3 separate regions of the Homo sapiens genome follow, and regions 1 and 3 are each linked to region 2. The links are contacts of gene promoters, found by promoter capture Hi-C in human tissues and cell types (Jung and others, 2019). All regions are on one chromosome and are shown on one strand. Each heading gives the region's core, a stretch centred on a gene start or on the middle of the fragment in contact. The rest is flanking DNA. Distances are from core to core; before and after follow the strand shown.

What was found. The method cuts DNA at HindIII sites, captures the fragments that hold promoters and counts their contacts. A contact is called where the count stands out against the background at its distance.
Region 1: a fragment that was not itself captured here is called in contact with the fragment with the promoter of ITPKA in region 2 in 4 of the 25 tissues and cell types used here (adrenal gland, dorsolateral prefrontal cortex, lymphoblastoid cells and 1 more).
Region 3: the fragment with the promoter of MAPKBP1 here is called in contact with the fragment with the promoter of ITPKA in region 2 in 5 of the 25 tissues and cell types used here (IMR-90 fibroblasts, adrenal gland, mesenchymal stem cells and 2 more).

The regions. Positions count from the first base shown.
Region 1 is chr15:41,802,968-41,805,667 of GRCh38, reverse strand. All of the region lies in intron 3 of MAPKBP1 (mitogen-activated protein kinase binding protein 1), which reads right to left. Among named protein-coding and RNA genes, the nearest start is that of JMJD7, 24 kb to the left of the region's middle. The HindIII fragment of the contact is 5,645 bases long and covers 1-2,700 here.
Region 2 is chr15:41,492,597-41,495,296 of GRCh38, reverse strand. ITPKA (inositol-trisphosphate 3-kinase A) reads right to left here and starts at 1,423. Exons shown (of 7, transcript NM_002220.3): 1 at 881-1,423. The coding sequence starts at 1,369. RefSeq lists silencers at 804-853, 964-1,143, 1,164-1,783 and enhancers at 1,520-2,020, 2,021-2,521. The HindIII fragment of the contact is 23,030 bases long and covers 1-2,700 here.
Region 3 is chr15:41,773,072-41,775,771 of GRCh38, reverse strand. It overlaps MAPKBP1 (mitogen-activated protein kinase binding protein 1), which reads right to left and starts at 1,288. Exons shown (of 31, transcript NM_014994.3): 1 at 1,162-1,288; 2 at 383-605. The coding sequence starts at 496. RefSeq lists an enhancer at 1,792-1,841. The HindIII fragment of the contact is 12,032 bases long and covers 1-2,700 here.

The DNA.
Region 1 (2,700 bases), core at 147-2,646, 310 kb before region 2:
ATCTCAGAATCAATTTTAACATGGGCTGAGGAAATGGAGGGCCTCCTCAGGAGAGCAGGGGTTCCCTCTTCTCCTCCCCACTTAAATCAACCAAGAGGTCTCTTCTTAGCTGCCAGATACACCCCGTCACCTTGCTGGGACACTTCCCATCCCAGCGGGAGAGGAGCAGCTGTGCGCAGGGCACTCACCCAGGCCATTCTGGCATAGGAGCCAGGAGAAACCCATTCTCAGGACTGGGCACAGGGGCACAGGGGCACAGGGGCTGTGCTGGGCTTGAAGGCCCATCAACCTTCCACCAGCTGGCTGAGGAAAAGGCCCAACTCAATTAAGGGTGTTCAACTCAATTAAGTCTCTCAAAGGGGCTGTCTGGCATCCTCTAGTAGGGGGGCTTCCCGTGGGGAAACAACGGCCAAGGGATGTAGGAGCCACTAGGACAGGCTCCATGCTCAGCCTGGAGCTCCTACCCACCTCTGCCTGACACACTGCCCACCCTCCTTTCCTGTGCTGTTCCATTTCCTTTCAGAAAACTTTGTTTTGGTTTGATATTCGCCTCCGGGCCTCAGAGAATTTTCTGAGTTTTGTTTCTCTCCTTGTTTCTAGGATACCTGAGCTGGCTCCCAAAGCAACAGGCACAGGAGGAACAAGAGCGTGGGGGCTGGGGGCAGTGTAAGGATGATCAGATAAGAAAAGCAGGGAGACAAGGAGGGAGGTGAAGAACCTGCTTGTGCTCACACAGAATCTGGTGGCCCCCAACATCACAGCAGCACATCAGGGAGTTCTAGAACACAGCAAAACTCAAACACCCAGAAAAGAAGCCATTTGCACAGACAACTTCAAGTTCTAAGAAATCAAAAGGTCAGGGAACAGATTAGGGGCACTGCCCAGGGATGGCCTAAGCCAAGCATACACGCTTAGGAAACCTACTAGAGGTTCCATCAGGAAAGCCTGTACACCATCTGGAAGGATCATGACTCCCAGGCACATGCACTGGGCTGAGACCTGCTCATAAACATGCATAAGCACATGCCCTTAAAGGCCAGGCCTGGAGTCCAGGGGTGTGTGAGGAAGAAAGCGGGCAGGACTCCACACTCTCCAGGGCAGGGACACAGGTCTCAGCATGCACCAAGCAGCACCCCAAGGCCTTTTTTGCCTGTGCTACATCCAGCCCCAGCCCCACCTCCAACAAGAGGGAACCTGGCTTTCCCAGGCAGAGGCAAGAACAAGTGGAATTCCCCTGAGGCAGGCTGCACAAACTTATCCAGTAGAGAGGTCTTTCCATCAGCTTGCTTCTCTAGGGGAAAATGGAGCCTAGCCCAGCCTTTGCCAGGCAGAGCCCGTGTGGCTCCCACAGCACCCTTACTGCAGCCATTAAACACCAGAGGACCACTTGGGAGAGACACTGACCCCAAACCCAGGGGCAGAAGTCTCCCTTGCACAGACTGAGCTGCCCATAAATGGGGCTCTTCTCATTCAAAGGGCAGGTAGGCAGCTTAGAGGAAAAGCAATTTGTTAAAAATAAGCAGAAAGTGGCCGGGCACAGTGGCTCACACCTGTAATCCCAGCACTTTGGGAGGCCAATGTGGGCAGATCACCTAAGGTCGGGAGTTTGAGACCAGCCTGACCAACATGGAGAAACCCCATCTCTACTAAAAATACAAAATTAGCTGGGCATGATGGCGCATGCCTGTAATCCCAGCTACTCTGGAGGCTGAGGCAGGAGAATTGCTTGAACCCAGGAGGCGGAGGTTGCGGTGAGCTGAGATCGTGCCATTGCACTCCAGCCTGGGCAAGAAGAATGAAACTCTGTCTCAAAAAAAAACAGTGTGGTCTCCCCCTACTCTGTGCCATTTTAACAATCAGAGCTCTACAGTCATACTACTTGGGTTAGAACCCCATTACACACACTAGCTATGTTACCTCAAGCAAACTCCTTAACCCTTTTGGTTTTTTTAAGAGGCAGGGTTTCACTGTGTCACCCAAGCTGGAGTGCAATGGCACGATCATAGTTCACTGCAGCCTTCACCTCCTGGGCTCAAGCAATCCTCCTGCCTCAGCCTCCCCAGTTGCTAGGACTACAGGCACATGCCACCATACCCAGCTAATTTTTTTTATTTTTACTTTTTGGTAGAGACAGGGTTCTCACTATGTTGCCCAGGCTGGTTTCAAATTCTTGGTCTCAAGCAATCCTCCCACCTTGGCTTCCCAAAGCCACTGCACCCTGCCTGCTTAACCTTTTTTTTTTTTTTTTTTTTTTGAGATGGAGTCTTGCTCAGCCGCTCAGGCTGGAGTGCAGTGGCACGATCTCGGCTCACTGCAACCACCGTCTCCCAGGTTCAAGCGATTCTCCCAGCTCAGCCTCCCGAGTAACTGGGACTACCAGCACCCGCCATCACGCCAGGCTAATTTTTGTATTTTGCTAGAGACAAGATTTCACCATGTTGGCCAGGCTGGTCTTGAACTCCTGACCTCAGGTGATCCGCCCACCTTGCCCTCCCAAAGTGCTAGGATTATAGGCGTGAGCCACTGCACTTGGCCTGCTTGACCTCTTTGGATCTCAATTTCCTCCTCTAAAATATGAGGGTGATAATAGTTGCTCAGAGTATTAAATAATTCATATAAAGTGCTTAAAAAGTACCTGGCATAGAATAAGTACAGTCATACGTCACATAATAACATTTTGGTCAACAGCGAAGGGCATGT
Region 2 (2,700 bases), core at 174-2,673:
AAGTCCTTCGCGCTGACCACGGACAGTTATTCAAGGTATTTGGCCTTGGTTAAAACGAGGGGAACAAGGAGGGTGTCCCGGGAGCCGCACATCCCTAAGTGGCGGGCGTCAGGAATGACTTAACAGTGCCCAGGGCTGTGTTTTCCGAGGGTCAGACCTGGTCCCAGAACACCCAGGCTATCAGAGGCAGAGACTAGCAGAGTGATCCTGCCCCCTTGCAGCCTCAGTTTACCGCCCCTCTCTGCCGCGCTCAGGAGCGGCGAGCCGGGAAGATGGGAGGCAGGGCGCGCACTGGGTGGGCTGCGTTCCGCTCCCAGCCAGAGCTCCCAGGCCCACGCCCCTCCCTCCCCTGCGTCCACGCCTCGTGCGGGCGCTGGGAGCAGACGGCAGCGGCTCCCGAGCAGAGCCTGGAGCGCCGCTCCACTCCCACTCAGGAGAGGGAAACCGTGGCAACGGCGGGGGTGCGGCCGCGGCACCGGAGAGGGGGCGGGGGGTAAGGGAAACTCTCCTTCGCCTCTCTCCTTCCGAGGGTTCACCCGGCAAGGCTCAGCCCCTCCGATCCCTCCTGTCCTAACCCACAGCCAACAAGGTCCGCTACCCCCGCTTCGCCCAGTCCCCGCGGCGGGTCGCCTGCTCCTCGCCCCGCTTCTTAGACGCCCCAGGGCCAGCGCCACGACCCGCCGGCGGAGCCGAGGTGAAAGTTGCCCAGGCGAGAGGTCGGCCAGGCGCCTCCCTCTGACCCCCAGATTCCTCCTAAACCGCGAGAACAGGACCTTCCGCTGGAGGGAGCATGGACAGGAGCGGGTCCTCCGGGAGCACCCAGCCAGGTCCCCCGTGCAGCCCCCGCGCCCGGCGCTGGCCCCGCCCCCGCGGCCCGTACCTGACCCACGTCCTCGCCCGCTTCCAGCTGCACGTTGCCGCGGCTCCGGCTCTCACTGTCGCTCAGCAGGTCGTCCTCCGAGTCCTCGAGCAGCGACGAGGAGCCAGTGGAGGAGACCGACGAGGTGGAAAGGCGGCGCGGCTGCTGCAGGTGCGAAGAGCCCGCTGCCGGGAGGCAGTCCCTCTCCCGCTCCGGCGGCCCAGGGCTGGTCGGGGGCACGTCGGGCTCCTCGGCTGTCACGGTCAGCTGAGGGATCACCGGGGCCGGGGGAGCCCGCGGAAGCCCGTTGGGGACCTGTCCCCCACGCCGCTTGGCCCCGCGGGCCCGGGGCTCCCCCGCGGCGGCGGCCGCAGCGACCGCCGCACAGCGCGCCTCGAAGAGCAGGCGCAGCTCCCCGACACTCCGGCGCGGGGCCCGCTCCAGCCCCGGGCTGCAGGGCCTCGCGCCCCCCGGCCGCGCCATGCCCGTTGGGCCCCCGGGCAGGGTCATTTCCCAGTGCCGGCGCCGCCGCTGAGCCCACCAGCCCGCGGCGCGCCGGGGACTGGAGCGGCTCGGCGCCCCCGGCTGGAGACGGCCCCGGGGCGGAGCCTGCGCCGCTGCACGCCCGCGCCCCGCCTCGGCCGCGCCCCCCGCCCACTCCTTCCACTTTCAGAGAAAGCGCGGGCCTCCCAGGGCCCCTGCGAGGGAGAGAAGGCTCTCGGTGACTCCTCGGGGTGGCGGGGAAGTCCAGCCTCCGTAGGCACAAAACCTGGGCCCGGGCCCCGAGGCTTCGCTCCGCCTGCCCTCGGGGAGGTGGGAGGGGCCGCTCCGCGCTGGGGCCTCGCAGCCTTCCCGGGCTTCGCGGCTGGGAGAGATTCCTCCAGGCCGCTCCACAGGCCCTGTCCCCGCGCAGGAGAAGCTGGTCCTACTCTTGGTCCCCTACCCCGTTCCTCGGGTTCCTTTGCGTGTTCATCCCTCCCGGGCAAGGGCTTCAAGTCTCGGGGCCTTTCTCCGGCCCGAGCTCCTGAGCAGAGTTGAAGGCCCCCGGCTTCCCGAAGAAGCCCCACCCCAGGGCGTGCACCCAAGTGGAGACTCTGCCCCAGGGACTAGCTGAGGCTGCTCCCCGCAAGTTCCCCACTTCCCGGCGGGCAGAGAACAAGGTCAGGGGGCGGGGCCTGGATCTGTCCCCATGGCCCAGCCTAGTCCCGGGCTGCATCTCCCCCGCTGCTGGGTGGCAGGAGCTGAGCCCGCCTTCCTCCTCCTCTGTTATAGGAGCTCGGGGCTTGGAGTCCGCCGTGTGGCGTTCAGCAAGTCATTTCACCTCCCTCGACTGCGGATTCTCCCGTTGCTGCGAGAATAAAATAAAAGACTTGAAATCAGGTACACCACACTCTAGATGTGATTTGTAGGCAGTCCCTTTACTCCCTCCGTATATTTCTGCATTTGTACATTTAGAAAAACCTCATCCAACCCACAGAGTTGTGTCTGTAAAACTAGGAAGACAGCACTGATGTTTAAGAGTTTCAGACACTGCAAAGTGCTTATCAGTGTCATTCCATGTGGATCTTCGGCCACTTCCCATGTTGGTAGTCAGCTGACCGACCGGCGAGGCTGCTTTGAGGAGAAGCCACTGTTTCCTATCTTACCATAGTGCCACAGGAGTGAGGGTCCCCCCTCAGGCACTCAGTGTCTGGGGATGGCTGGGGCCCTGGAGACAGAGCAGCCCCAGAAGGATTGCCTTGGATGCTGAGATGGCCGCAGGAGGGGCTTTCCTTCCCTTCTCTCCCCTCAGCCAGGGCTCAGGAATGGCCCAGGAGAAGGAAAGAAGAAGGTTCAGTGGG
Region 3 (2,700 bases), core at 39-2,538, 280 kb before region 2:
CGTTAACACCTGCAGCTACATTAGTCACAGCTTAGCCCTTCACAAGGTATGTGTTCCTACTGTCCTCTCCCAAGAAGGGAAACTGAGTCATAGCATATCAACTGGCTTCCCAAGCACATGCTTAGTGTATAGTGAGGCCACAATTGAACCCAGGTGGTCTTCCTACTATTCACCTTTTCTCATGGATGAATCTCAGCATGCCCACCCCTGCTGCTCTTTTTCCTTCAACCTAAAACCAAATCATTGCCTGCAGAGATCATATGTGATCCTTTAGAGTCAACAAGGGCTTCTAGTTATCTTTCCCAAGAAACAGGAAGGTTAACGAGGAACATGGAGCAGGAGAGGGTGGGTTTGGAAAGAGGTGGATCCCAACAGGACTCACCTTGGAGCTGAGGTCCTCTCGTCGGTTTCCTGCCTTACTCCTGCGCAGTTTGATGGATGGAGATCTCAACAGATTCTTGATCCGGCTGGTAATGGTTGACCCTTCCACAGCCATTATGACGAGAAACCCTTTGGGACAGTCCCCGGCCCAGTCCTGGGTCTTGTCTCAACAGCGGCACTGTCTTCCCACTCCAGAGGGCTTCCCAGTATGCCCTCTCACTGACCTGAGATGGCAGAAGCCACCTTAGTATCACAGTGTCTTACCTTCTGCCTAGCGAAGTCTGCAGCTTTTACCTCTGGGTATTGCTCTCACCATTTCCCTCATCCCCACCTTCTAGCCCTGCACAGTTTCTTACAACGTCGGAAGGAAAGGCTCACGAAAAAGGGGGGGAAAATCCTAAGCCACGAAGAAATGCCAGGCCCACGCCCGCCAGAGGCGTTTAACTGGCGAGATGGATGGGATGGGCCCCAGTTGGTCTCGTGGACGATCTGGTTCCCGTTAATGCCCAACTGTTCCCATGGCAACTGTAGTGTCCAAGGGAGGAGGCCGCCGAGACCACCAGGGATTTCCGCAGGCCTGGACACCTGCGCTAGCGCCGGCGGGGACGCGGCGGGGCTCGCCGTAGCCCACAACTCGTTCTGCCACGGGAGCCTCCCTCCCCCACTCCCTATCCTCCAGAGCTCGCTCTCCGCCCTCCACAGCGGCTCTGGACCTTTATCTTTCACCCGCCTCTGAGGCCCCTGCTACTCGTCAGCGCCCCCGTTCGGGCCCAGCCTCACCAGCCTCGGCGAGCTAAGGCCACCCCGCTCACAGCGCCCTCGGGCATCGCGTTCGGCAATTTCAGCTCCGCCGCGGTAGCCGCAGCGGTAGAGGCAGCAGCAGGAGCTATGGTGGCACGATCGGCTCAAAACGCGAACTACCGCCTGGGCCAAGCCGCGGGCTGGGTGGGCGGAGCCGACGCGAGGGGCGCGGCCTGTAGTCAGGAGAGCGCTTCCAGAGTGGACGAGCAAGGTTTACGGGGGCGGAGCCAATGAAAGGGCCCAGGAAGCAGACGGCTTGGGACTAGGGAACCACGGAATCCGCACAATTGCGGGTACCGCTTTTAGAGGAAGGTCAACAGAACATGGCTTCAGAATTGAGAGAACCAAGCCTTTTATGGTATTATCAGGCCTGGTCCCCCATGGAACTGCACTTCCCAGAGCCCCAAGACGATAACCACGCCTCCAGGGTGTTAAGGTTGTCATCTGATAGGCCCGAGGGACCGTAGCTGAAACTCCTAGCTCAGAATTACAAGACTGAGCTACAGCCTAAAAGCTCTGCTCCCAGCGACCACAAGTGTTGAGATTTAAAGCGACTGAAGTAGTTTCTGCTCGCAGCCAGTCCGGCACGTAGACTCAACGTGGAAAGGATTATTCTGAGTAATGCAATTTAATAGCTAAGAACAGTATTTTTGCACTGGGCAACCTGGTCATCATGAAAGGGGAAAGGGTGGCCTTGAACAGAGCTTTGGGCGTGCGGGGGAAAGAGAAGTGAATATGCTATGTTATAATACTTTAGGTTTCATGGCTTCTTTAGCCTCCAACATCCCATTGTGCTTCCTCACCTAAAGCTGACCAGGACTTTGTTGCTCCAGATCTTTTCCTCATTCCATTTACTTATGAATCCTTTTATCTAGGGCTGTTCCTTGCTGAGGTCACTGTCGAGCTTGCTGATACTAGATCGAGGGGTAGTTTTCTAACTCATGTCGGGGGAGGCAGAGGGAATACACGGAAATGTTACATGAAATAGTATTTCCTGAGTATTCTCCACTTGACTACTACCACAAGAAATCACCTTATGAAAAAGCCTAAGCCAGAGACTTGGGTCCCAAGGGAATAGTACACTGGTGTGTCCGTCTCACCCTATCCAGATCTTTTGAATCCCTGTGGAGATGACATGTGTCTGCAAGAGGGAAGAACCTCTAACAAATTATTATACCTTATGAAAAAGCCTAAGCCAAAGACAAGGGACCCAAGGGAGTACTACACTGGTGTGTCTGTCTCACCCTATCCAGATCTTTTGAAACCCTGTGGAGATGACATGTGATAACAAGAGGGAAGAACCCCTAAACTCATTGCTTGTGTACAACGGTGAGCCTTTAGAGCCAAGTGGCAAAGCACATATTTTCTTGTGTATACTGTAGCCACGTACTGAAAATTAGATTTGTAAAGCTCACAAGTTGACATGGAGATGATGGATGTCACCTCCTGGAGACCAACTGGCAATAGCACGTGGCCTTCTTCCCTTCAACCATGCACTGCAAATATTATGAAACAGAA